Regions from separate parts of the Homo sapiens genome. Here regions 2, 3, 4, 5, 6 and 7 are each linked to region 1. Evidence: promoter capture Hi-C in 16 types of primary human blood cells and fetal thymus (Javierre and others, 2016). All regions are on one chromosome and are shown on one strand. Each heading gives the region's core, a stretch centred on a gene start or on the middle of the fragment in contact. The rest is flanking DNA. Distances are from core to core; before and after follow the strand shown.

What was found. The method cuts DNA at HindIII sites, captures the fragments that hold promoters and counts their contacts. A CHiCAGO score of 5 or more calls a contact.
Region 2: a contact is called between a fragment that was not itself captured here and the fragment with the promoter of APOL6 in region 1, in 3 of 17 cell types (M0 macrophages, M1 macrophages and endothelial precursors). The highest score is 9.5, in M0 macrophages.
Region 3: a contact is called between a fragment that was not itself captured here and the fragment with the promoter of APOL6 in region 1, in 2 of 17 cell types (endothelial precursors and M0 macrophages). The highest score is 6.5, in endothelial precursors.
Region 4: a contact is called between a fragment that was not itself captured here and the fragment with the promoter of APOL6 in region 1, in 2 of 17 cell types (M0 macrophages and endothelial precursors). The highest score is 7.7, in M0 macrophages.
Region 5: a contact is called between a fragment that was not itself captured here and the fragment with the promoter of APOL6 in region 1, in 1 of 17 cell types (neutrophils). The highest score is 5.3, in neutrophils.
Region 6: a contact is called between a fragment that was not itself captured here and the fragment with the promoter of APOL6 in region 1, in 2 of 17 cell types (endothelial precursors and M1 macrophages). The highest score is 5.2, in endothelial precursors.
Region 7: a contact is called between a fragment that was not itself captured here and the fragment with the promoter of APOL6 in region 1, in 3 of 17 cell types (M1 macrophages, M2 macrophages and fetal thymus). The highest score is 6.1, in M1 macrophages.

The regions. Positions count from the first base shown.
Region 1 is chr22:35,646,301-35,650,284 of GRCh38, reverse strand. APOL6 (apolipoprotein L6) reads right to left here and starts at 1,839. Exons shown (of 3, transcript NM_030641.4): 1 at 1,662-1,839. RefSeq lists an enhancer at 1,835-2,134. The HindIII fragment of the contact is 8,876 bases long and covers 704-3,984 here.
Region 2 is chr22:36,137,530-36,141,513 of GRCh38, reverse strand. APOL3 (apolipoprotein L3) reads left to right here. Exons shown (of 4, transcript NM_145639.2): 4 at 1-1,185. The coding sequence ends at 314. Among named protein-coding and RNA genes, the nearest start is that of APOL3, 21 kb to the left of the region's middle. RefSeq lists enhancers at 1-59, 60-561. The HindIII fragment of the contact is 260 bases long and covers 2,144-2,403 here.
Region 3 is chr22:36,107,508-36,111,491 of GRCh38, reverse strand. No RefSeq gene overlaps it. Among named protein-coding and RNA genes, the nearest start is that of APOL3, 51 kb to the left of the region's middle. The HindIII fragment of the contact is 1,193 bases long and covers 1,107-2,299 here.
Region 4 is chr22:36,077,621-36,081,604 of GRCh38, reverse strand. No RefSeq gene overlaps it. Among named protein-coding and RNA genes, the nearest start is that of RBFOX2, 51 kb to the right of the region's middle. The HindIII fragment of the contact is 2,254 bases long and covers 575-2,828 here.
Region 5 is chr22:35,227,624-35,231,607 of GRCh38, reverse strand. It overlaps LINC01399 (long intergenic non-protein coding RNA 1399), which reads left to right and starts at 552. Exons shown (of 6, transcript NR_126356.1): 1 at 552-610. The HindIII fragment of the contact is 2,590 bases long and covers 1,069-3,658 here.
Region 6 is chr22:36,003,997-36,007,980 of GRCh38, reverse strand. All of the region lies in intron 1 of RBFOX2 (RNA binding fox-1 homolog 2), which reads left to right. Among named protein-coding and RNA genes, the nearest start is that of RBFOX2, 23 kb to the left of the region's middle. The HindIII fragment of the contact is 228 bases long and covers 2,209-2,436 here.
Region 7 is chr22:35,979,393-35,983,376 of GRCh38, reverse strand. The region is part of intron 1 of RBFOX2 (RNA binding fox-1 homolog 2); the gene reads left to right. Among named protein-coding and RNA genes, the nearest start is that of RBFOX2, 47 kb to the left of the region's middle. The HindIII fragment of the contact is 5,413 bases long and covers 1-3,984 here.

The DNA of each region.
Region 1 (3,984 bases), core at 590-3,089:
TATTTCTTTGGGGTAGTCTATGAAAAAGAATGAATGCTTCAAAGATAAAAACCTTCTCCCCTCTTTGGTATGTGAAGCTAGGTTTGGTTTAGGGGGCTTGGCACCTTTAAGAGTTTACTTTCACCAGACATACATCTACCTGCTTTACACAGTGACCCAGTGAGATCGGTGCTAAGATGATGCCCATTTTACAGAGGTGCAAACTGAGACATAGGGAGGCCAGTGTCACACAGTAAGCAGGAAAGCCTGTGCAATTCCAGCCACGCAGAGTCTGGAGTAGTTGGTCCCAAACAGGGCGTGTTTGCTCCTCAGGGACACTGCTAATATCTGGAAACATTTTTGATGGTCTCAGCTGGAGAGGGTACTGCTGTTGGTATGTAGAGGGCAGAGGCCAGGGATGCTGCCAAGCACCCTACGATGCAGAGGACAGCCCCCACAACCAGGGATCACCTGGTTGAACATGACAAGGTTGCTGGGGGTAAGAGACTCTGGTCTGGAACCCCATTTTTTACCAGCGTCCGCCAATACCTCTCTCATTTTTTTACATTAGTCCTATGGGATGCAGGGCAAAGGTAACAGCAGGAAACTCATCTAAGCAGGTCCCATTCCATCCCCTCTGACCTGCTCTTGGTGGTTGCGAGAGGATTTGCTTGTGAGAGGTTTATTGGAAGAGGATTTGAGAACTTACTTTCATTTGAAAGCTTACAGGATATTTATGACAGTCTTTCCTTACCTGCCTTCCCCCACAAAACCAACTTCTGCAGATACACAATCTAAGTAAGAAAAATCTGCTTACTTTGAAAACACAGCTTCAAGATAACCTCCCTAGATTTTTTTTTTTTTTTTTGAGACCGGGTCTCACTCTGTTGCCCAGGCTGGAGTGCAGTGGTGCGATCACTGCTCACTGCATTCTTGACTTCCTGGGTTCAAGTGATCCTTCCACCTCAGCACCCTCCCAAGTAGCTGGGACTACAGGTGTGCACCATCACGCCCAGCTATTTTTTGATTTTTTGTAGAGACGGGGTCTCACTATGTTGCCCATGCTGGTCTCAAACTCTTGGGCTCAAGCAATCCGCTTGCCTTAGCCTCCCAAAATGCTGGGATTACAGGCATGAGCCACTGCGCCTGGCCTAGTCGCCCTAATATTTATCACAAACTCCCTCACCCTCTTCCCCAAACAACTTCACATAAATCTACAATCTAGAAAACTCTGTAGGTTGGCTTTGCAGTTTCTAGACAACTCACCCAGCACCTTTTTTCTTGTGAGATGACACCCCTAAACCACTCCTCTACTGAATTTCTAGGGAAACGCCTGTGGCTGATGTAATCATCTGCTTTCTAAGGGCCAGGTCCCCTCTGCCTAAGCCCTCGGATCCCCAGCAGTGGAGGGACAAATGCAACTTGGCTAGTCACATCGCATGCTTTAGCATGTTTCAATTTAACCCTGAAATGGCTGTAAGGGAGGGAAACCTACCAGGATTAACACAGGAGAAGTTAATCCTCAGACTCTCCTCAAGCTCTGGCTGGCATTTGAACCCCGCTGCTTTCACAGCAGCTCTTTTCCCTGAGTCAGGTGCCTAAAGCCAACCCCTTGGGGGCTCTGTCCTTCAGGGACCAGAGCGGCAGCCCCCTCCTCCCCCGACTTCTGCCCGCCGTCTCACCTTCTCTCCACGGAGCTCTCCTTTGTGGCCTTGGGTCCCGAGGGAGAGGAAGATCCTGAACCTCTGTCCTTGCCTCTCCGAGGTCCCCTGGTCTGGCAGGGGGCTGTGAGTGTCTGGGCTGGAGAAAGACGGATAGGAAGAGTAGGGTGGCCTTTGAACAGGAATTGATTGCAAAACTGGTTTCGGTTAAGTGCTGCAGGAGAGAAAAAGCAAAGCTCTAGGGCTCTTCCAGGAAATCATGGGCTCCAGCTGTCACTTTCAGTTTCCTTTTTGCCAGTTTCTCTAATTGGATGAACAAGGAGGTGAAAGAGCAGAATCCAAGTCAGGAGGCCTGAGTCTCTCGTCTCTGTCCTGGCTGTGTTATAGGATGGACCTATATGGGGTATGAAAATAGCTCCTGTGGCTTAGAGCTATGGTGAGGAGCCCATGAGCAAGCGATGGGGCGCCTGTTGAATAGTGGATTCACAGTAGCTGTCATCACTGATTGTTCTGAAACTGCTTTCCTCCACAGCATCTTACGTGACGCTGATGTGGGTAACAACCCTATGAGGTGCACAGCATTAAAGGGCTAATAACTCTGAATGCAGAATCCTCTGAAAATGGAAACTTTATTTTATTATTATTATTATTATTGTTTTTTGAGATGAAGTCTCGCTCTGTTGCCCAGGCTGGAGTGCAATGGCACGATCTCGGCTCACTGCAACCTCCGCCTCCTACGTTCAAGCTATTCCCCTGTCTCAGCCTCCCTAGTAGCTGAGATTACAGGCACCTGCCACCACGCCCGGCTGATTTTTGTATTTTTAGTAGAGATGGGGTTTTGCCATGTTGGCCAGGCTGGTCTCAAACTGCTGACCTCAAATGATCCATCCATCTAGGCCTCCCAAAGTGCTGGGATTACAGGCGTGAGCCACCGCACCTGGCCTCAGAATGAAAACTTAAAAAAAAATGATAATTTATTCATTTAGTGGCAAAACCTGACCTGATCTGGCATGAATTCACCTGTGGTTTTTATGTCTCCTGCTTAATTTGAATATTTACAGTCACTGCAGAAATATTAATATGTTTGACTGAGGAGGGCTGCTGCGGGTGCGTGGGTTACATAGTACACGATACCTGCACCCCATTACCTTTCTAAAAATCCCCCAAATCAGGAACTCTGACATGCATCTGGCCTCAAGGATTGGAGATATAGGATTGTGATACTCTGTCTCCCACTTTAAGGAAGAGGAAACCCAGGCTTCTAGAAGTTGTGGGTTGTTTGTGATTACACAGCTAAGAACCAGTCCTAGGCTCTGTGTCTACAAGAATGAGCCCACAGTGAGGTTACGGGCTGAGATCTGTGTCTCTCTAGCATTTGTGTCAAATTGTGATCAGAAGCCATGTGGTTTGTTTGTATTTATATGCCCAGAAGTCCCCAGTCACCACCCCTAGCTGAGACCACATTGGAGGCTGTTGCTTTGCAGAAGGTGCGGCCCACCTAGCCAGTCCTGGCTTTGCTGTGATAGAGGCCACCTCCTGTCCCTGGGCCCTACGAGCAGGAATGAGGGGTTAAGGGCTGCTGAGTTGGGTCTTGTAGGGGCCTTTCCAACCGTGGCATCCCGGATTCCACAACCCACCCCTGCTCCTGGCCTCCCACACTTGGGGAACACGCTAAACACAGCCTGACCTTGAGGAGGACTTGGCTGCCTGGCTGGGGCCGCTGAGCCATCCCAGGCCTGCCTGTTGTTTTCCCTGGCAACGGACCCAGATGTTGTGGTCACTGCTCGGTCCTGGGAGTCTCAGGGGCCAGACCGGCCATTGGATGGGGGCAGTGTTTACCACCAGGGCTCTTGTGAAACAATCGCCCCAAGAGATGCCATGTGAGAAAAATGTTCTGTAGCCAAATGCAGGAAGTGCTGCTTATGTAAGGGGACAGAAAACATCCACCCTATAGCTCAGATGAACAAAAGTAGGGAGTCGCTTAATTTCCTAGAGTCCACTTCCCTTCCCTCAAGGGACCCAAGACCTGCTGAAAAGAAACAAACTTGCCTGAAGGCCCCTTAGTCTCTTGTGATTTAAAACACACTCTCGGACCGGGCGCGGTGGCTCACGCCTGTAATGCCAGCACTTTGGGAGGCTGAGGCAGGTGGATCGCTTGAGGTCAGGAGTTTGAGGCCAGCCTGACCAACATGGTGAAACCCTGTCTCTACTAAAAATACAAAAATTAGCTATGTGTGGTGGCGGGCACCTGTAATCCCAGCTACTCGGGAGGCTGAGGCAGGAGAATCGCTTGAACCTGGGAGGTGGAGGTTGCAGTGAGCCGAGATTGTGCCACTGCACTCCA
Region 2 (3,984 bases), core at 1,024-3,523, 490 kb before region 1:
GGCAAGCCAGAGCCAGGGCCCGACTCCCTGTGACCACCTGGCGAATCTCAGCTGGAAGTGGTGGTCAAGCAGAGAGAACGATTGCAGGCACCACCCGGGCAGTGAGCAGAGGAGCCCGGATCCTGAGTGCGACCACTTCAGGCATCTTCCTTGCACTGGATGTGGTCAACCTTGTATACGAGTCAAAGCACTTGCATGAGGGGGCAAAGTCTGCATCTGCTGAGGAGCTGAGGCGGCAGGCTCAGGAGCTGGAGGAGAATCTAATGGAGCTCACTCAGATCTATCAGCGTCTGAATCCATGCCATACCCACTGACCCCAGACCAGTGCAGCCAGCAGGGGAGGTGAGCCATACACAGGCCACGACAAAATGCAGGCATTTTATTAGGGGGATAAAGAGGGCAAGGTAAAGTTTATGGAGCTGAGTGTTAGTGACTTTGGCATTTCTGTAGCTGAGCACAGCAGGGGAGGGGTTAATGCAGATGGCAAGTGCACCAAGGAGAAGGCAGGAATGCTGGAGCCTGGAATAAGGGAGGAGAGGGGACTGGAGAGTGTGGGGAATAGGAAGAAGAAATTTCCTTTAGACTAACGAATATATTGGGGGGAGGAATAGAGGGGAGGTGTGCAGGAACCAGCAATGAGAAGGCCAGGAAAAGAAAGAGCTGAAAATGCAGAAAGCCGAAGAGTTAGAACTTTTGGATACAGCAGAAGAAACAGCGGCTCCACTACCGACCTGCCCCCGGTTCGATGTCCTTCCAAGAATGAAGTCTTTCCCTGGTGATGGTCCCCTGCCCTGTCTTTCCAGCATCCACTCTGTCTTGTCCTCCTGGAAGTGTATCTCAGTCAGCCAGTGGCTTCTTGATGATGGCGGTGGAGGTGGTGGTTGTAGTGTGATGGATCCCCTTTAGGTTATTTAGGGGTATATGTCCCCTGCTTGAACCCTGAAGGCCAGGTAATGAGCCATGGCCATTGTCCCCAGCTGAGGACCAGGTGTCTCTAAAAACCCAAACATCCTGGAGAGTATGCGAGAACCTACCAAGAAAAACAGTCTCATTACTCATATACAGCAGGCAAAGAGACAGAAAATTAACTGAAAAGCAGTTTAGAGACTGGGGGAGGCCGGATCTCTAGAGCCATCCTGCTGAGTGCCCTGTGTGTAAGTCCTAATAAACTCACCTACTCACCAAGCTGGACTTATTCGAGTCATTCCTTGGTCTCCTGGCTCCTTTCTCGCTTTGGGAGCAAGTTCCTGTCTGAAGTTTTTGTCTGAACAGTGGTAAAGGTGATGGTGATGATGTCAGCAGACAGCAGGAGGACTTGACAAATGTCAGCCCTGCTTGGGGCCAGGATACACTGAGGGAACGATGACATTCCAATGAAACTCCAAATTCTGTATTGGAAAAGTCATTGATTTGTGAAGAAAAATAAAAGGAGGCTGGGCACGGTGGCTCAGGCCTGTAATCCTGGCACTTTGGGAGGCCGAGGCGGGTGGATCACCTGAGGTCAGTAGTTGGAGACCAGCCAGGACAACACAGTGAAACCCCTTCTCTACTAAAAATACAAAAATTAGCTGGGCATGGTGGTGGGTGCCTGTAATCTTAGCTACTAAGGAGGCTGAGGCAGGCGGATTGCTTGAACTCAAGAGGAGGAGGTTGCAGTGAGCCGAGATGGCGCCAATGCACTCCAGTCTGGGAGACAGAGCGAGACTCCATCCCCCGCGTCCCCCCCCCAAAAAAAAACAAGGAAGAGAAAAGCAAAACCAGATGCCAGGAACCAATCAAGGAACTTTGTGGTGCATTGAGGAGATGAACCAGCCTGCAGTCAAGAGACCCCGCCTCTCTGAGCCTCAGTTTCCTCATCAGCTGGGAAAGAGGGGCTGGACAAGATGATATCTCAGGTCCACCTGGCTCTCTCCTCTTGTGTTCTGGAGATCTGGGTTCAAGCAACACTGATCTATGCCTGTGCCTTTGTGGTGCTGATGGATGGGCTCCCCTGGGCTCTCGGTGCCTGACTTCACTTCCTCATGATCCTTCTTCCAGGGACTCAGGGAGCTAGGCCTCCATGGCCCCTTCTGCTTGTTCTTCTGGTCGGTCATTTCTGGGCGACCCCAGTGCCCAGTGGCCTGTGAGGCACTCAGGGAAAGCTTGTAGACATCTGGCTTGGCCCAAGTGCAGGCATGGTCCCCATCTAGCAGCCAGGGCCCACGAATGACATGGGTCACACAAGGCTGACTAAAATCAGAGGGGCCTGTGTGTAGGTTGAGAGAAAGTCCATGAGAAATAGAGGAACAGAGAGAGATAGCCAGACAGCAAACACCCTCATCCAGTCTGCAAACACCCTCATCCAGTCTGCAAACACCCTCATCCAGTCAGCCCTCTCATTTCACCCAGACTCCTGCAAAAGCTTCCAGAATGGTCTTCCCTGTTATACAGCCCTTGCCACTATCCCTGCCCATCCTCCACACTGGGCCAATTTGCCCCGTAAGAACATAGATTTCTTCAAGCCCATGCTTCCATGTCTTCAATGGCTTCCTATTACTCTTAGCACAAAAGCCCAGAGCCTTCATGCTGTCTAATGTAGGCTGCTGTGGCCTGAGTTCCCCTGAAGGGAGAGCCCTAGGCAAGGCTCCCAGGCAGAGGATTTGTTTGGGAAGTGATTCTAGGAGCAGGACTGGGGTACTGGGAGGAGTGACACAGAGAAGGACAGAAGGCTGATGCCGGGAGAAATTCTTGATAGGGTCACCCATGTGGGCGACTGGAGACCTCCTGAGGAGTCTTCAAGGAGCGTCTTCAGAATGTTCCTCTACAGGGAGGAGAGAGGGAGGCCTGTAACCACTGCTCCTGTCCCCCATGGCCTTGCCCCAGTGGACATTAATTATCTGTATTTCCATGCATAGAATATAGAACTGCTGGGCGCCTCAGCTGGAGCCCAGAGCAGGGGCAAGAGATACAGAATGCACAAAATCACCCCAGAACCTCTCCTAAGTCACTCGTAAAGTGCACCCAGGGCCTACTTAGTCCTTTTTTATGTAGCATCCTGCAGAACACTTGCCTCAGTCCCTGTAACTCTCCATCAGCCAAGGCTTCCCTGACCTTCAGTTGATTCATCTATTTCTTCCTGAAGAAGTCAACAGAGCAACGGCCACCGACTTGCCTAACGCCAGAACATTGTGTTTCATTTGTCTGTCAATTGTTCATCAATTCCTGGATAATTCCCATTCTTTTCATACATTTCACTTAAGCTTTGAATGTTTCTGGCACTGAGTAATTTACTTCTTCAGTGATCCAGCCAGCATTTGCCCTGACACTTAGAGTTGAAATGCCATCAGGCTACCTGCATTTGATGCAATTCCACTGTACTGCTAGTATTGTTTAAAAATTTTTCAATTGCAAGCAACAGAAACAGAAACTATCTGTCTTAAACAAAATAGAAGATTCATTGGATGAAAACTAGAGCAGGTCAGAGGATGGAAGGAAGAACAAAATCTACAGAATTTGGAAGGACAGGAGCAGACCATTACCAACATCAGGAATATATGGTTTGCCCTTTCAGGGCTCTGCCTGCACCTGGCTTAGCTCCACACACTTTGATTCCTAGTGTCTCTGATTAAAGTTTCACATACTCAGTAGACAGAATAGCTTGGGTTAGTGACTCTTCTTGAACTAATCAGTGAGGCTATGGTATCAGGAATGGGGATGGGTAACAGAGACACAAACCCTAATGGGAAGCCTCTGGCCAAACAGCCACCTGAATTTGTGCTCATTGTATACAGTCAATCGCTTGCTACTGCACACACACTCTTCTTCTCATACAAACAAAAAGAACTCTCCTTATCTGCTATGAACCCAGCCATCCCAAGGAAAAAGGCAAATGCACTTGCCTCTTCCCCAGTGAGAGCCACACACAGCATCTCCACCTTCTGCATGCTGAAGTTATGTCACAGGAGGAGGGCCTCAGCACACGATCAATTTTTCTTTTGGTCCATT
Region 3 (3,984 bases), core at 454-2,953, 460 kb before region 1:
GACTTTGGGAAAAGTTTGAAATCCCCGGGCAGGGCAGATGCCCTCTGAGGTCCCTCCCAGCTCTGGCATTCCAGGGTTCAGGCACACTTCTGGGCTGAGTATTCACCTATAAGCTCCTTTTATCAAAGTTGTCTTCCAGCCGGGCAAGGTGGCTCACACATGTAATCTTAACACTTTGGGAGGCCCAGGCGGGCAGATCATTTGAGGTCAGGAGTTCAAGACCAGCCTGGCCAATATGGTGAAACCCCATCTCTACTAAAAATACAAAAATTAGACCGGGCGCGGTGGCTCATGCCTGTAATCCCAGCACTTTGGCAGGCCAAGGCGGGCAGATCACGAGGTCAGGAGATTGAGACCATCCTGGCTAACACAGTGAAACCCCATCTCTACTAAAAATACAAAAAATTAGCCATGGTGGCACGTGCCTGTAATCCCAGCTACTCAGGAGGCTGAGGCAGGAGAATCGTTTGAACCTGGGAGGCAGAGGCTGCAGTGAGACAGGATGGTACCACTGCACTCCAGACTGGGTGACACAGCTAGATTTCGTCTCAAAAAAAAAAAAAAGGTTGTCTTCAAAGCATGCCCAGTGAGAAGAAAGACAGTGGCCCTGGCTTGGCGACCCCAGAGCTGGTTAGAGGTGTCTAGCACAGCCATCACCTCCAGCCCCGCCTCTGCCTCCCACTTCCCACCGGAGTCTGCAAAACTGGGGTCGGCCTCCTTTGGGTCTGTTTCAGGAATGTTGGTAACTGGAGATTCCTAACAGCGAACCTGGCTCCAAAAACACACCCCCAAGCAGAAAATTCCAGGCCAAAGCAATTTCCCAGCCTGGCAGGAAGCTGCCTGCCTGGGCAGAGGTGGGAGGGCAGTTTGGACCCAAAGAAGGTCCACAGGCTGCCGGCCAACACACGTGGCCCCGACCCCAATCTGCCTCCCGCTGGGCCTGTCCTCCCTCCCTCCTGTCCAAATCTCTTTTCTCTGGCCCCCAGCCACTGGGGGAGGAATAAGAGAGGGTGGCCTTCTGTTCATTTAACCCTTCCCCCCTTCCTCCTCCAGGGTCCCAACCCCCGTCTCTGCCCGTCGCAGTCCCAGGCTCCTCGTCCCAAGCTTCTGCTCCCTGCCGCCACGGGCTAGTAAACAGCTGCCCTGCCCTCCCAGCCACCCTGCACAATGACTCTTATTAAAGCTCCCCAGTTACTAACAAGGGAGACCTAAAGAAGTCCAATCATGTGCCAAGGGTCACATAGCTAGGGAGCCACGATTCTGTCCCATAGCACCACATCCCTCCCTGTGCCCCGACGACAGGACCCTGTGAGTCCCTGCTTCCTCCCTTCCTGTCTTTGCCTGGACTGGAGGTATGGATTGCATGTCTGGCCCTTTTGTCAAAGAATGAAGACAAAGCCATATTCCTCTTTGCTTCCCCAGGGCCAGGTGAGAACTGGATACTCAGAAAACACTGACTGAGGCCGGGTGTGGTGGCTCACGCCTGTAATCCCAACACTTTGGGAGGTTGAGGCAGGAAGATCACGAAGTCAGGAGTTCAAGACCAGCCTGACCAATATGGTGAAACCCCATCTCTACTAAAAATACAAAAATCAGCCGGGTGTGGTGGCTCGTGCCTGTAGTCCCAGCTACTCGGGAGGCTGAGGCAGGAGAATTGCTTGCAACCAGGAGGCAGAGGTTGCAGTGAGCCAAGATCGCGCTATTGCACTCCAGCCTGAGTGACAGAGTGAGACTCCATCTCAAAAATAAAAAGAAAACACTGGCTGAAGGAACCTTTCAGAATGATCAGAAGGGACGTGGGGCAGGGAAGTGGGCAGCTGTGGTGGCCACTTGGCCCCCAGGGGACTGGTCCTCTCTGTGACTGTCCTGTAGAGCAGGGATCCATCACCCCCAGTCCATGGACCAGTTCTAGTCTGAGGCCTGTTAAGAACCAGGCTGCGGCCAGGCGCGGTGGCTCACGCCTGTAATCCCAACACTTTGGGAGGCCGAGGCGGGCGGATCATGAGGTCAGGAGATCAAGACCATCCTGGCTAACACGGTGAAACCCCATCTCTACTAAAAATACAAAAAAAATTAGCCAGGCGTGGTGGCAGGCACCTGTAGTCCCAGCTACTCGGGAGGCTGAGACAGGTGAATGGTGTGAACCCAGGAGGTGGAGCTTGCAGTGAGCCGAGATCACTCCACTGCACTCCAGCCTGGGCGACAGAGCGAGACTCCATCTCAAAAAAAAAAAAAAAAAAAAAAAAGAACCAGGCTGCACAGGAGGACACGAGCAGTGGGCAAGCGAGCAAGTGAAGCTTCTTCTGTATTGACAGCCGCTCCCCATCACTCACATGACTGCTTGAGCTCCAGCTCCGGTTAGATCAGCGGCAGCATTAGATTCTCCTAGGAGCACAAACCCTACTGTGAACTGAGCATGAGAGGGATCTAGGTTGTGGGCTCCTTATGAGAATCTAGTGCCTGATGATCTGTCACTGTCTCCCATCACTCCCAGATGGGACCCTCTAGTTGCAGGAAAACCAGCTCAGGGCTCCCACTGATTCTACTTTATGGTGAGTTGTATAATTATTTCATGATGTATTACAATGTAATAATAATAGAAATAAAGTCTCCAATAAATGTAACGTGCTTAAATCATCCTGAAACCATCCCCCCATCTCCGGTCCATGGAAAATTGACTTCCACAAAACTGGTCCCTGGTGCCAAAAACGTTGGGGACTGCTGCTTTACAAGGTCTTTGCCCCACACCCGAGAGGGGAGTAAAAGGCTGAAGTGTCATCTGGGTACTTGCTTTCTGGCTGTTGGGGCTACATGGGCCACCATGTGTTTTTGCAGCAACATGCCTGAAAATACAAGCCTCTTGCACTGTGAGCCGAGACGTCAGGGGGCCCTTGCCTTGGTCTCTACCACAGCGCCCCCTCCTCCCCTCCCTGCCTACCCTACCTATTAGGTAACTTAAAGATGTACAGCATCTCGGCTGAGCATGGTGGCTCACGCCTGTAATCCCAGCACTTTGGGAGGCTGAGGCAGGCAGATCATGAGGTCATGAGATCAAGACCATCCTGGCTAACATGGTGAAACCCTGTCTCTACTAAAAATACAAAAAATTTGCCGGCGTGGTGGCATGCACCTGTAGTCCCAGCTACTCGGGAGACTAAGGCAGGAGAATCGCTTTAACCTGGGAGGCAGAGGTTGCAGTGAGCTGAGACTGCACCACTGCACTCCAGCCTGGGTAACAGAGTGAGACTCCATCTCAAAAAAAAATAAAAAATAAAAAATAAAGATGCACAGCATCTCAAAAGTATCTCATGAAGCCGGGCGCGGTGGCTCACTCCTGTAATCCCAGCACTTTGGAAGGCTGAGGTGTGCAGATCACCTGAGGTAAGGAGTTCAAGACCAGCCTGGCCAACATGGCAAAAACCCATCTCTACTAAAAATATAAAAATTAGCCGGGCATGGTGGTGGGTGCCTGTAATCCCAGCTACTCAGGAAGCTGAGGCAGGAAAATCACTTGAACCCGGGAGGTGGAGGTGGCAGTGAGCTGAGATTATGCCACTGCACTCCAACCTGAGTGACAGAGCGAGTCTCCATCTCAAAAAAAAAAAAAAAAGTATCTCATGAAATGGAATGGGAGGCACCCTTGTGTCATGGGAAGTGCATTCTCCAGTCTCCTGTCTTGCTTTCCTGCTCCTTCCCTCTCTCGTTCCTCTCTCGCCCAGTCTCATCCCAAACCTGCATGGTTTGGAGGGGGGTGGGCACTGCATGGGCAGTAGTGCTTGGGCTTGATTGGGTGGGGGAGGAAATCCTTCCCCTGTAAACGCTAGCCAAGAATACCATTGGTCTCTATATGTATATTAATAGAAACAGGATGTTTTGTCACTGCAGAGAATTGGTTAACAAATATTGCTTGGGCCACGAGCGGTGGCTCATGCCTGTAATCCCAGCACCTTTGGGAGGCTGAAGCAGGCAGATGACTTGAGGTCA
Region 4 (3,984 bases), core at 452-2,951, 430 kb before region 1:
CGTGCCTGTAATCCCGGCTATTTGGGAGGCTGAGGCAGAAGAATTGCTTGAACCCAGGAGATGGAGGTTGCAGTGAGCTGAGATGGTGCCACTGCATTCCAGCCTGGGTGACAGAGCAAGACTCCATCTCAAAAAAAAAAAATAAAATAAAATAAAAAGAGTTCTGACTCACCCAGAGGAGAAGGAAAGGCCAGGGCTGGATGGGCTGGCCCCCAGGGACAGAGTGCTGAAGAGGCCTAAGAGGGGCCGCTGCCACAAAGGGACAGGCCAACCCCGCTCTTCATAGCCCAATGTGTGGAGCCCCATGACATGTTCCTCACAAAGGGATTTATGTGAAGTGCGTAAGTCAGTATTGCCATAGTTTACCTCATTGCTTTCTCAGAATCCTCCCCTACCAAGCAATGACTCAGGATGAAAACAAACCAGTGGGAAGGAACAGAAGTCCAGGCCCTAGAGCTGGCTGCATCTGGCTTTCACCCCAGCTCTGCTTCTGATGCACCAGTGACATTGAACACGACACTTGGCTCTTCTGTTTCCGCGTGGTCTGTAAAATGGTAAATTACTTCACCAAGCTTCTGGGAAATGAATGGAGATAATACATACAACAGGCTTAATACAGGGTCTTATTTATGCGGCCAAGAAACATGAAAAAAAGTGGGGCCAGGCACGGTGGCTCATGCCTGTAATCCCAGCAGTTTGGGAGGCTGAGGCGGGTGGATCACCTGAGGTCAGGAGTTTGAGACCAGCCTGGTCAACATGGTGAAACACTGTCTCTACTAAAACTACAAAAAATTAGCTTGGGCATGGTGGCAGGCACCCGTAATCCCAACTATTCGGGAGACTGAGGCAGGAGAATCACTTGAACCCAGGAGGCAGAGGTTGCAGTGAGCCGAAATCTCCCCATTGCACTCCAGCCTGGGTAACAAGAGCAAGACTCCATTTAAAAAAAAAAAAAAAACAGAAAGAAAGAAAAGAAGAAAAGCTGAATATCACTGATCATTAGAGAAATGCAAATCAAAACCACAGTGAGACACCATCTCACACCAATGAGAATGGTGATTATTAGAAAGTCAAGAAACAACAGATGCTGGCAAGGCTGTGGAGAAATAGAAATGCTTTTACACTGTTGGTGGGAATGTACATTATTTCTCAACTATTGTGGAAGACAGTGTGGTGATTCCTCAAGGATCTAGAACCAGAAATTCCACCTGACCCAGCAATCTCATTACTGGGTATATACCTAAAGGGATATAAATCATTCTGTTATAAAGATATATGCACACATATGTTTATTGCAGCACTATTCACAATAGCAAAGACATGAAATCAACCTAAATGCCCATCAGTGGTAGACTGGGTAAAGAAAATGTGCTACGTATACAACATGGAATACTATGAAGCCATAAAAAGGAATGAGATCATGTCCTTTGCAGGGACATGGATGAAGCTGGAAGCCATCATCCTCAGCAAACTAACACAGGAACAGAAAACCAAACACCGCATGTTCTCACTCATAAGTGGGAGCAGAGCAATAAAAACACATGGACACAGGGCAGGGAACAATACACACCAGGGCCTGTCGGTGGGGTGAGGGAAGGGAGAGCATCAGGAAAAATAGCAAATGTGTGTGGGGCTTAATGCCTAGGTGACGGGTTGACAGGTGCAGCAAACCACCATGACACATGTGTTTACCTCTGTAACAAACCTGCAGGTTCTGCACATGTATCCCAGAACTTAAAGTAAAATAAAATTTTTTTAAAAAAGGCTGGGCGCGGTGGCTCATGACTGTAATCCCAGCACTTTGGGAGGCCGAGGCGGGCGGATCACGAGGTCAAGAGATCGAGACCATCCTAGCTAACATGGTGAAACCCCGTCTCTACTAAAAATACAAAAATTAGTTGGGCATGGTGGCACACGCCTGTAGTCCCAGCTACTCGGGAGGCTGAGGCAGGAGAATCCCTTGAATCTGGGAAGCGGTGAGCCAAGATCGCGCCACTGCACTCCAGCCTGGTGACAGAGTGAGACTCCATCTCAAAAAAAAAACAAAACAACAAAAAAATAGTGTCTTGCATGTAGAAAGCCCTCAGTAAATTGTAGCAATATTGCTGCTTTTGTGGCAGTGATATGTTGCTTATTTATTTATTTTTAAATTAAAGACTTGTCCACCTAGTACCTTTTACAAGGGGCAAGTAACATCCTCTTTAAACCTCAGTTTCCTCCTCCAGAAAATAAGAAAAGAAACTCCCACCTCAGAGGTTATTGTGAGAACTTGGGGTTAATGGTGTAAAGTGCCTGGCTCATAGCCAGAGAAGATGGAGAGCTGGCAACCATCCTGCCAGGCCCCCTCCTGCACCCAGGGCAGACATTACCAGGTGAGCTTGGATGCTGTCCTGCACCAAGGGCAGACATTACCAATTGAGCATGGATGCTAACTCTGTGTGCTTATCAATGCATGATGCAGAGAAACTCTATTTGCCATCGCTGTCATATGTTCAATGAATATTAATTCCCCTGGTCCTTCTCTACCACCTTTCCTTCCAAATAACTAACCCGCAATTCCTAACCTGGTTTGGTGAGAGGTTCAGCTTGGAAGAGGCTGTACTAAAATTGTGGGATCCTGTGAGTCAGATAGAGTTCCAAAGGCGTGTTCATACTGCATCCTCTACTATTAAGACATTCTTGGATTTCCTCAAAAAAAGTTTCTAGACAAGGGAAGCCTTCCCGAGAGGGTGATGGTTTCCCATAAGTGTAGGTACTGGGGTTGAGATCCCAGGAACTCCAAGTTCCTCATGTCCACAGCCAGTGGATGAAATTTCTCCTTCAAAGCTTCATGCCTTGGTCTTTCCACATTTTGAAAATTAAAACACCCACGGGAGAATAATAAGCTAGCTGTTTCAGGTATTCACTATTATCAGGAGCTGGGAACTGGCTTGAAAGGCCTTGGAGGACCAAAGAATTAGGGAAAATTATGAGGAGAAAAATTACTTCTGAAAATAAGAATTGACTATAGAATTTTAGGACGAGTGCTAAATTTGAAGGTAGGCAGAACTGTGTTCAAATTCAAGCCAGACCACAACTAGCTGTATGCCCTTGGGCTAGTCAATTAATCTCTCTTAGCTCAAATTATTATCTGTAAGGATAATAATGCTCATTTTTGTTTTGTTTTGTTTTGTTTTTTTGAGACAGAGTCTTGCTCTGTCGCCCAGGCTGAAGTGCATTGGCTGGATCTTGGCTTACTGCAACCTCCACCTCCTGGCAGTGATTCTCGTGCCTCAGCCTCCCAAGTAGCTGGAATTACAGGAACGCACCACCACACCCGGATAATTTTTGTATTTTTAGTAGAGACAAGGTTTCACAATGTTGGCCAGGCTGGTCTCAAACTCCTGACCTCAAGTGATCCACCCACCTTGGCCTCCCAAAGTGCTGGGATTACAGGCATGAGCCACTGTGTCCAGTCATAGTTCTTTTATTGTTAATGCTCCCTCCTAACTTCTTTTTTCTTTTTTTTTTTTTTTTGAGATGGAGTCTCACTCCTATCGCCCAAGCTGGAGTGCAATGGTGCGATCTCGGCTCACTGCAATCTCCACATCCTGGGTTCAAGCAATTTTCCTGCCTCAGCCTCCTGAGTAGCTGGGATTACAGGTGCCCGCCACCACGCCCAGCTAATTTTTTGTACTTTTAGTAGAGACAGGGTTTCACTATGTTGGCCAGGCTGGTCTCTAACTCCTGACCTCATGATCTGCCTGCCTCAGCCTCCCAAAGTGCTGGGATTACAGGCATGAGCCACCGCGCCTAGCCTCTCCCTCCTAACTTTCAAATCTACTGTCAAATGAGACAATGGATAGAAAAGTGGCCCATAGTAAATTTCCCATTAGGGAGAGGGTGGTTGATCACGATTACTCGGTTGTGAGAGAAATCCAACTCCAACTCACTGAAGCTTTCAAAGGAATTTATTGGCTCGTGTGATTAAAAACGAGAGATGTA
Region 5 (3,984 bases), core at 1,114-3,613, 420 kb after region 1:
AAAGCTAAAGAAGCTTAAGCTTCAGGACTTCTCACCTGTACAGACCCCTTCTGCTTTTGTACCTAACTTTGCATTTATAATTTCGTATCATTTTCCCATAAGAGGGCTTCCTGAATAAGTTGCGGGCTCCTCAAATCTGTAGTCCCCTTTCTTATGTCAATACTTTGGTAACTCAGCCTGGGGGACTGGGACATTGAGCGTCTTGAGCATCATGAAGTGTAAATTTCCAGGGCATCTGGCTGTCCGTCTTCCGGCTGTGGACTCCCGGAGAGCAGGGGCTCTGCCCTGTTTGACTTGGACTGTCTGCTATGTAGAACAAGCTGTTTGTAAATGTTTGTTGAAAGAATGAAATAAAGGAGGTTGAGATGGTTAGGCTCTGTGTCCCCACCCAAACCTCATCTTGACCTGTACTCCCCAGGTGTTGAGGGAGGAACCAGGTGGGAGGTGATTGGATCATGAGGGCGGTTCCCCCCATGCCGTTCTCGTGATAGTGAGTGAGTTCTCACGAGATCTGATGGTTTTATAAGGGGCTCCTCCCCCTTCACTTCCTTCACAAGCGTCCTCTCCTGCTGCCGTGTGAGATATGGCTGCTTCCCGTTCTGCCATGATGGTAAGTTTACTGAGGCCTCCCCAGCCACGTGGAACTGTGAGTCAATTAAATCTCTTTTCTTTATAAATTACCCAGTCTCAGGCAGTTATTTAGAGTCGTGTGAAATGGACCAATACAGAGGTAAACAGCCCCCCCAGCACCACTGCCGCTGCTTTAATCTTCTCTTTGGGTCTCAGTTCCCCAACTTTAAAGGTGGGGGCAGGCATTGGATTAGAGTTCATCTCTAAGTCTCTTTTCAGTCAGATGTTTACTCTAGGATTTGCTCCCTGTCCATCCCTTTCTCAACTCTACCACCTGTCATTTCATTTTATTTCTCTAGTTCTGTCCTCCTCTCCAGCCCATGCCCTCACATGGCTAGAGCCTCCTTGGCTCTGCTAACACCTTTAGGTGCTGGGATTACATGCATGAGCCACAGAATCTGGCCATGGTATAGAACATTTTTACCACCCCAGAAAGCTTCCCATGCCCCATTTCTTCTCCAGTCTTTGGCTTCTGGCAACTACTGATCTGTTCCCTGGCACTGTGCTTTGCCTTTTCTAGAATTTCATATACATGGAATCCTACAGAAAGTAGTCTTCTGTGTCTGCCTGCTTTCATTCAGCATAACGTTTTTGTGATTCATCCAGGTTCCGTCATGCATCTGTCATTCATTTCTTCTTGTTACTGACTAGTATTCTATTGTATGGGTATACCATAATTTACCTACCAGTTGATGAACAAGGCACCAGAATGAAAATGGTCCGAGTTTGAATTTAGACTCTGCTATGCGTTGCCTGTATGATCCTGAGCAAACTGTGTAGCTTCTCTAAGCCTCACACTTCTCAGCTGTACAGTAGGGACAGTAACACCTTCCCCTAAGGTTGCTGAGAGGATTAGATGAGCTCAGCCCTGAGGAACACCTCGCTGTGTGTCTGGTACTCAATAGCTGGTTGTTATCAAGGATGTATTGAACTGTCTGAACCAGGTGGGGGCATATTCTGCTCTACTCTTATCTTTCTTACAATATCGTAGGCAGATCCTTGAGATTTTTGGTCATTTGCAGCTAAGTACTTCAATCTGGTTTTTCATTTAATGCTCCTCTTTCCCACCCTCCCGCTCAGGCTTGACCCAGCCCCAGAGACCTGCGCCGGGAGAGGGATGGGAAAGGTTGGGAGCAATGGGCAGGATGCTAGCTGTTTCTCAGGGTGCCTGTGTGGGTTCTTCAGAGGTCCTCGTGAAGAGCTCTTGTGGGAGCCCTGACCACCCCATTAGCCCCCATCGTTGCCAGGGGGAGCCCACAGCTTCTTGCCACTCAAGTCTCCTTGGGTAATGATTAGGATCTTTGGACGTGGAAATTGCTCAAGTCTTGGTCCTTCAGTGGTGTTCTCTCCGCCTGTGGGAGACTCACGCATCTTTGCCATGCTATAGTGGGAGTGCCTGCTGCTGCACCTCCACCCCCTACCCTGTGCCTCGCTCCAGGTCTTTTCTCCCCTGTTCTGTTAGACTTAAGGGGCAGATCAGAGAGTCTGCTGCAGAAACACAGATCTAGGGTCCTTTTCTTTCAGGCAGCCCCTAGCAGATGCTGGGATGTGGGCAATGTCTCCTACCTACATTCCTTGTCTCTGCTAAAGTGCTCACTGGCTAACCTCCAGGGCAGCCCCTGTATCTCTTTGCCTGAGGGCGTTCTACAGTGGCCAGGCCCCGGGCCAGAGTAGTGGGCCTAAGTACCAGGAAATTAACACCACAGCAGCAGCCCTCCATGATGACTGGTGAGTGTTGGCGTGTATTAATAAATGCCCAGGTCCCTTGCCCCCTGGTGGGATGACTCTGAAAGTCGTCTTCCTCACTAGCTCCCAGTGTTTCACAGCAGGATGAATTCCCTCTCATCCACAGTGGTCACTTCTCAATAACCACACCCTTTTCACTGCCGTTCTTTCTCCAGCTCTTTCTTATTCCCCTCCTGGAGTTTCCTTGGATAATCTCTCAAGTTAGTCACGTGTCCTTGGATTCTTGCCTCAAGGTCTCCTTCTGGGGAACCCAAACGATGCCATAGCCCTAATCTTTGCAAATGACTTTCTTGAAGTTGGCTTGGGTGGGAGCCAGGGCCGTACAGCAGGAAACGAAAAGACACAGCGCTCTCCCCATATTTCAAATACTCCCTTGTCTAGTGAGTCCTCTGGAATTCCTCCAGGTCTTTTGCTGATAAAGGTTGGAGGGGCTTGGGAAGGGGTGATGGCTGTGGGGCAGAGGTACTTCTGTCCTTTCTTGGCTCATCTTGCATGGCTATGTCACTGTGCTTTTTAGAATGTGAGAGGATTTCATGCCCATTGTCCCTAGTTTGGGGGTTTATGCAGAATTTTGGGACAACAGGGAAAACCTGTTTTCTTAGCACAATGCACAGCATTTACATATTAGTCTGCTCAGGCTGCCCTAATGAAATATCATAGACAGTGTGGCTTAAATAACAGACATTGATTTCTCACAGTTCTGGAGGCTGGAAGTCTGAGATCAGGGTGCAGTGTGGTAGGGTCTGGTGAGGACCCTTTTCCAGGCTTGCAGAAAGCTGCCTTCTCACTGTGTCCTCACAAGACAGAGGGAGAGCGCTGATGTCTGTTTCTCTTCTTATAAGGGCACTAATCCCATCACGAGGACCCCACCCTCATGACCTCATTAAGCCTAATTATCTCCCAAAGGCCCTAGCCCCAAATACAGTCTCACTGGGAGTTAAGGCTTCAATATAAGAATTCGGGGGAAAACAATACGGTCTGAAGCAGCTTATTGACATGATGATGATGCACCTCTGATTTTACCACTGAAACCTGTTTCTCCTGCTGTATTCCTTATGTTGGGGAAGACATTCTTTCCTCCCTGACTTCCTCCTCCCCTCATGTCTGGTTAGGCATAAAGTGTTGTCAATTCTACCACCTCCTAAGTATTAAGTACTTCCTCTCCGCTGTCCTCCACAACTTCTCTAGGCCAGGCTCTCATGCCTCATATTGGTCAGGATTGAGTTTCATGTGTGTCCCTGTGAAGAGACCACCAAACAGGCTTTGTGTGAGCAATAAAGCTTTTTAATCACCTGGGTGCAGGTGGGCTGAGTCCGAAAAGAGAGTCAGCAAAGGGAGATAGGGGTGGGGCCGTTTTATAGGAGTGGAGTAGGTAGTGGAAAATTACAGTCAAAGGGGGTTGTTCTCTGTCTGGCAGGGGTGGGGGTCACAAGGTGCTCAGTGGGGGAGCTTTTGAGCCAGGATGAGCCAGGAGAAGGAATTTCACAAGGTAATGTCATCAGTTAAGGCAGGTATAGGCCATTTTCACTTCTTTTGTCATTCTTCAGTTACTTCAGGCCATCTGGATATGTATGTGCAGTCTTGGGCCCAGAGGCCTGACATTGAGTA
Region 6 (3,984 bases), core at 1,073-3,572, 360 kb before region 1:
TTATTTGAAGTAGCAGAAGGTTGAAGAAACAAAAATGCTCGTTGACAGGAAATCTGCTAAATAAAATAAGGTACATTCTTGATGAGAAAAAAAAAGGTACATTCATACAGTGGAATATCATGTAGCCATTAATTAGGCAGCTCTGTATGAACATAGAACACTCTTTAAATATATCAATTGTGAAAATCAAAGTACAGAAGAGTGTATAGTTTGCTGTTATTTGTATAAAGTAAAAAAGTATCCGTGTGTGCATAGACTCTGCCAGGAAACACAAGACTCCCCAGCGGTTGCCTCCTCGGAGGAGCATTGAGAGACAGAGGAATAAGGGTATAGGTAAAGACTTAATTTTTATTGTATATAAAAAAATCATACCAACAAAATTTGTTAATTGTATACCTTTTGTTCCTTTTGAATTTTGTATTACATGCATGTATTACTTGTTTTAAAAATAAAATAATGTATTAAAATTACACAGGGATAGGTACTGTGTAAACATAGGGTTTATGGTCCTTAAACTTGCTAATTTTCATAGAAATGAGTCAAGTTGTGTGTTGGAGAAAAAGTATGCCAATTCTGCTTACCACAAATAAAAAATAGTACTTGTGTGGTGGCGCATGGTCATTTTGTCATTTTGATTTTGTGTATGACATTGTTTATTCTATGTAGGATATTCCAGTACTTATATTTACTTATTATGTATTTATATTATATATATTTATATGTTTGTATATTAGCTATGTTTTCTTACATTTTTTATTTACTGAAAGTGCTGATATGGAGGGGTAGATAAGAGATGATTAAAAATGGAAAGTACATTAGAAATGGTGAATGTGTATACAAGATGAATCATTCAACAATACAATTATAAAGGGTCAAGTGCAAATCATAAAGTGGATTGAGAAGAAGCAAAATGAGTGAGAATCACTACCATAAGCCTCTCCCTTGTTCTTAAGAAATGTCCCCTAGCTAGACATGCACCCATGGGTTACTTGGATTTTTTTCACCTTGGAATTTTATGAACAAATGGACTTAGGAGCAGCCTTTCATTACAGAACCTAACTTGGTGGTGGATAGAGGAGTGTCTGTACCAAGCCAGGATGAGTAGTGCTTCTATGGGAGCATAATGGAGGAATTGAGGGATTCTTATCTGGCTGGGGTGGGATGGGCATTTGGAGAACATTCTGCAGAAGCTGTTGCTGCGTATTGAGTGGATAAGCAGGGCAGGTCATTCTAGACAAAAGAAACAGTATGTACAAGGGCAAGGTATGAGAGGAACTGCAAGTGAGTCAGTGAGGTTGGGGTGGAGGGCATGCGAGCAAGGGATTTGCCCAAAGTGTCGTTGGTAGTTAGTTCATCCGCACACTGCTGTTCTCTTGCAATCATGTAGGACCATTGTTCACCAAGCTGGCTGGGCACTGGTGATTAGATTCTCCTACCACTTCAGAAACATATCCTTATAAGGGTAGATGGAGGAATATAGTCTTTGTTCATTAAGGAAAAAAAGAGAAAGCAAAAAAGAACAAAGAAAATCTGTATTTGGTTATGTTGTACATATGTAGTTGTACTGACTTCCAGCAGACTATCTTATTTTCTTTTTCTCATCTGTCTGCATCCTTCAAGAAACTTTCCCTCTATTTGGAACCACAGGTTGAGTGCCGCATGGACACAACTTGAATCTTATGTTCTGTTTGATTATATTTGAATTTACATGAAGCACTTTCTACCATGCAGGCATGCATTTTGCTCTTCATAGCATGGAATGCTGTAACAATGTTGTTTTGTCCATTAGAGGCTTTCAAAAATTTTTATCAACATTTAAGTGCTTAATTTCTACAGTATACCAGGGCTGGCAGTAGGTAGGCAGGTGATATTTTATTCACATACCCTATATATTTGCACATTTTGATTGCTCGTTCTGTTAATTAAGGAGAGAATTTCTCTTTTGTAGCTGAAATGTTTTATGCTTTGAATCCACTCAAAGACAAATTATTCTGGAAAGCTTGAACTAAACCTGGTCAGATGCTTCTGAGTTATGAGAGAGGGATTGAAATAAACTTTTTCAGCTAAAAATAATTTTGCTCACAAGTTACCAAAAATGGCTGACTAGAAATGCTTTTAAGATACTTGTCTAAGCTACCATAAGCTAAAGGTCAAGAAAAAAGTTTAGAACACGTTATGAGAAACGATTGGCTCTACTTTGCTAAAGCTTTTGCCAAACCTCTTATTCTGTAATGACCACATGAGACAAAAGCTGGTGAAAGTGGTATGCCTTAGATTCAGTGGGGACCTAGAGATTTTTTCAGTGGAACACATGTGCTGCCTATCTCTTCTGACGACGAACTAGTACCTGTGGAAGGCACTAGGGTTAGGTGAAAATGGGACACTTCATTCTGAAGCTGTTATACAATTGCCTATGCCAATTAATTATTTAAAGCTTTTATCTTCTGTTGCAGAGCAATTTTTGCCCTCAGAATATTTGTCAGTCCTCACAAAGTGCCAAGTGATGGGTATTTAGCATGTGGCATTGCCGTCAGTGTTCTGTCATTTTGTTTAGACACTTCTTTGCATCTCACTGAATTGCAGAATTAAGAATCGTTCACATTTATGGGCAGCACGTTTTTGCAGTATGGTCATTTATCATTGGAGTTTATATTTTATGCTTCCTTCTAGACTCTTAGTGTGCTTTCACGATTATCCAGAGGATTCCTTTGCAGCAGCAGTGTATGCCACTGATTGGTGGTGGTAGCCTTGAGAAACTAGGGAGGCATGTTGACTTTCCTTAAGGTTGCTTAGTATTGTAGAATAAAATCTTGAATTAGAGTAAAATTCAGAGAGAGCTGTTTTTCCCCGTAAACATCATTCTTTTGAATACAGCCAGTATTAAGCCAGGATGCGTTTTCTTCCTAAATTTAACACGTATTTATTGAGCATCTAATGTGTATGAGGTTATGAGAAGGGAAGTTGAATGAGCTTATGTTAGAGGAACTCAACCTTTCCTCAGAGAATGGGAGTCTGCAGGCAGAGGTGGTGGTGTTGACACTTCGAGGAGAGTGAGAAGTTTTAGAAGTAGCTGCTGTTCCTATGTAATAAGGATTCATCAAGAAGTGGGATGAAAGGGTTGCTCAGTCTCAGTAAGTGCCAGCTGGGATTGAGTTGGTCCTGATGGTTTAACTTTTTTTTTTTTGAGACAGAGTTTCACTCTTGTCGCCCAGGCTGGAGTACAATGGTGTGATCTTGGCTCACTGCAACCTCCACCACCTGGGTTCAAATGATTCTCCTGCCTCAGCCTCCCAAGTAGCTGGGATTACAGGCACTTGCCACCATGCCTGGCCAATTTTTATGTTTTTAGTAGAGATGGGGTTTCACTGTGTTGGCCAGGCTGATCTCAAACTCCTGACCTCAGGTGATCTACCCACCTCGGCCTCCCAAAGTGCTGGGGTTATAGGCGTGAACCACCTCGCCCAGCTGTTTCTTAACTATCAGACAGTACTTGGAAGCCCATGAGTGTAGCTGAGTGCACGTTACCTAGTGCCAAGTGTCAATAAACTGAGATGAATGGGTTCAGGTAGAATAAGGGCGTGGGAGAAAACAAAGGACAGCAGGAGCTTTTCCTACGAGTTTGAGATCTTGACGTTAGAAGAGTTTTGGGTAGCAATGATGTGTAAGGATCCAATGGATGAGTTTGGTGTAGGTAGTGCCCCCTGGAAATAAGTAGGTTGAAGAACTTGGAGTCTCAGTTTTGAAAGTGTTGTCAACTTGAATGTTGAAACGATCTAGGCCTAAGCATTGAAACTCTGGGCAAATTGGGAGAAAGTCATGGAGGTTGGGGAAGTGGAAAGAATGATGTATAAGTGGGTTAACTCAGTGACTCTCAACTGGGGGTGATTTTGTCCCCTCAGTTGACATTGGCAACGTCTGGAGACATTTTTGAGTTTTATAATTGTGGAGGTCTTACTGGCATCTAGGGGTTGGAAGCCAGAGATG
Region 7 (3,984 bases), core at 733-3,232, 330 kb before region 1:
TACTTTTCTATCAGGTTCTGTTTGATTTTGACAACTATAGTTAATAAGGAAGGTTCAAGAGCAGATGCCCCTGGTAGGGGGCGGGTAGTAGCTGGTGGATTAGAGCTAAAGTAGAGCTGGTAAAAGCCTCCTGGTTGCAGAGCTGAGGGCAGATTGGGCAGGTGCACTACTAAGGTATGGTTTTGAGATCTACTATTTCCAGCACCTTGTTGAAAAGTTGATAGCTACATTCATCACCCAGGTGAAGTCTACCATAATGAGGAAAAAATTGCTTATCTTGCCAGCAGCCCTCAGGATAAACTTAGGAGAACTGGGGAGATTTGTTTTTCTGATGATTCTTGGATTTTGTAGTGCAGTCATTGTTTGCTTTGCTGCCTTGTAGGGGAGGAAGGGAAGAGGCTAAGGGGAGAGGGTGGGTGAAACAGCTGTCAAAGAAAGAGGAGTCCTGAAAAGCTATTTGTGTTTGGGAGCTGGAGCTCAATGGTAGGGCTGTGGTAGTTTTGTAGGCCACACTCTCTTGTTGCTGTTTTGCTTTTGGGACATAACACTAATAAATAGGATTAGTGGTTTTTTTTTTTTTTAAACGATACCCTTAGCTTGTTAGAGTTAAAACAGCTTTTGTTCTAAAACACTCTATCAGAGACTATTAAAGAATGATTTTTCTTATATAACTGTTGCACTCAACATGTTCCATTGTAGGGACTGTAGCATGGTTTCTATTCAGATATCCTGGACCCTCAGACCTCAAATTACCGTCCAACCATTTCCTTTTCTCCTACCCACTTCCCTGTTCATTCTGCAGTTCTTGTAATCACCCCAGCAAATGTTTATTTAGCGCCCGTATGCCCTGTACCATGCTGGCTGTTGAGGATGTGGAGGGAGGCAGAGAGAGAGAGACAGTCCATGACCTCAGGGGCTCCCAGTGTAGTAGGGAGACTGGTACCAACAAGACCTATAATGTGGTAAGTGCATTAAGAGAATTGAGTAAATGGGGAGATGGGGGGAGGAGGGTCTAAACTAGCTGGGACCGGTGGAAGTCAGGGAAAGGGACCTGGGGGATGTAACAGGAGCTATCCTTCTGTGTTTTAAACAGTAGAAAGAATAGAGAAATACTGGTTTAATGGGTAGAACACAGGGTGGGGGAATTAGGACTCTTCCTTTTCGGTCTTTTGTGTTCAAAAGTATAGCAGCTTTCTTTGCTTCTTGCTCCTAGCATCAGATTATCTATTCCCCTGGAATTATGTGGGTTGGAGAAGAATGGAAAGGAATTTGCCCACCTGCATGGAGAGAGAGGGAGGCAGTAGGGATGTGGGTGTTTAAAAGCCCTTGGCATGATTGGCTGTAAGTACAGATGGCTATTTGTGTTACCATTATTGTAGCTGTTATGCCTACATTCCCTTTGGTGTGCCTCTCTACAGGGATAATTGTGGGGTCCTGACTTATAAGTCTTCCTGCTGCTGGATAAAATAGATGCTGATGTGTTGTGCGTTACAGGGTATACAGTGAATTCTGTGTGGGCTGTCTTCTTACTGCTGCCTTGATCTTTTGGGGCCTCAAACATAAGGGGAAAATGACTAATTTTGTGTGTGCAAATTCACATTGGTGAAAACCAGTAAAACCATAAAAATGGTTATATTCAATTTTCCTAAGGGATTGACCTCCAAATGAAGCTAAAATTAACTTTGGTGAATGCTTATATTTTTAAATTTTTAATTCTAATTTTTTTTTTTTTTTTGAAATGGAGTCTTGCTCTGTCACCCAGGCTGAAGTGCAGTGGCATGATCTTGGCTTACTGCAATCTCAGACTCCTAGGTTCAAGGGATTCTTATGCCTCAGCCTCCTGAGTAGCTGTGACCACAGGCGGGCACCACCACACCTGGCTAATTTTTGTATTTTTAGTAGAGATAAGGATTTACCATGTTGGCCAGGCTGGTCTCGAACTCCTGGCCTCAAGTGATCTGCCCACCTTTCCTCCCAAAGTGCTGGGATTACTGGTGTGAGCCACCACGCCTGGCTGAATGTTTGGATTTTTGAAAGCATTAAATACCAAGGGCTGAGTATCTAGGGAAAAGGTGATTTGTCTGTGAAATCCAAGGAACTGGCTACATTCTGTGTATAACTCTGAGGGAAATAGAACAGAAAGAGGATGGGCTTTACAGTTGCTCTGCATATTTTTTGTTGTGGGACCTTGCTCAATCTACCTAACTTTTCTCAAGCCTCAGTTTTTTCATTAGTAAAATGAAGATAATAATTACTACCATAACGTTGTTTTGGTGATTAAAAATTTATTATTCCACTACTAAAAGCCTTTCAAAGGCTTCTTTCTTAGTATTTATGTCCCAACAGAATGGAATCACTTGCTATCTTTTTCTCCTCTGTGCTTTTTTACCATTTTTCTTGTATCTCTTTTTACCTCTCTACTCAGAAAATTCTCCATAAAGTAAAACACATAACATAAATACATAAGCGTGCAAAGTCAGGTTGCTCCTTAGATCTCAGCCAAATGGTATTTTGTTTTCAAGGAAGCCTTTCCTGAGCCCGATCCCATTCCAGTCTGGAAGATGTCCTTTCTTTTAATTTGTCTGTCCCACCTGCTAAACTGTAAGTTCTCTGAGGGCAGAGATTGTCATATTTACTATTGGGTCTTCCTCTTTTTTGTCTTGTAAATGGTGTATGGTCTGTATGCAAGCTGCTTGCAAAACTCAGGGCAATACCAAGAGACATAGCACCCCCCACCCCCGCCCCAATTGATTTATAACCAGAAGAAAACCGCTTAATTTTCACCTAATTGATGGTAAAGCCTGGTTACTTTGGGGATAAATTTGGCTTTGAAAGTAAACCTGATGCTTTGTGCTTTGGTAGATATTTAACTTCTGTTCTCTTTCATACACAAGAGTTACTCCTTTGCTTTGAGTAGAAAACCATTAGAAAACCAGGGTAGAACTTTTGGCAATTATCCAGTTTAGTAATTGGGCCAAATAGTTCTAATCTCACCACAACCACTACTTCTTAGAAAATGATCTCTTTAAACAAAACATGGAACATCTCTGAGGATGAAAACCTAAGGGAAGGAATAGTTGGAGATCCCCAAATATACTCATATAGATTCCCCCCATTCTTTTTCCTATTTATGGGTGTTCAAGCCTTGGAGAGATGTGTGTGTGTTGATCACATAGGATCTTTTACCTACATGACCTAAGTATATTCCGTTGTGGCCTTTGGTCTATTTTTTTTATACATCTCAAATGTTATCTTTTAATAGGTCATAATGAATTTGTGGTGGAGTAAAGGCCCAACATTCCCTGTACAAGTAAAGGCAAACCATAGCGCCAGTAACCCTTTACTAGTTTATAAGTAAAGGCTATCTCTGTTAGCCTGAATTCCTTGAGGGCAGGGATGGTCTGATTGATTTTCCATCCTCAATGATAAGTAAAGATATTGGCACATACTTCGTTACGTGATGGTTACCTATTTGTCGAATGAGGTAGCATGGTGTAGTAGATTAAAGGCTCCAGAGTTTGACAGACTGAGTTAGTATGGCACTGACACTTGTTGAACCACGTTTTAACCTTTCTGAGCTTTAGGATCAGCTTTCGTTGTGAGAATCAAAGACATTGTACTCTTAAATTCCTGTTAGTGGCTATTATTTTTTCTCCATTGATTCTTTATTTTGAAATAATTTCACATTACAGAAAAGTTACCAGAGCAGCTAACAACCCACAAAACACCCCAAACTCCTGGATTTTCTTCACTCGGATTCCCCAGTTGTTAATATTTCACTGCATCTGCTTCATTGCTCACTCTGTGTGTTTGTGTGTGGGGTTTGTGTACATACATACCCTTTTTCATTGTGCCTTTTCTGAGCTTTTTTTGAGAGCAAGCTGCAGATGTGATATTCCTTCACTCCCAAACACTTCAATGTGTATTCCCCGAAATAGGACTTTCCTATATAACTGGCAGAGATCTCCAAATCAGGAAATCAAT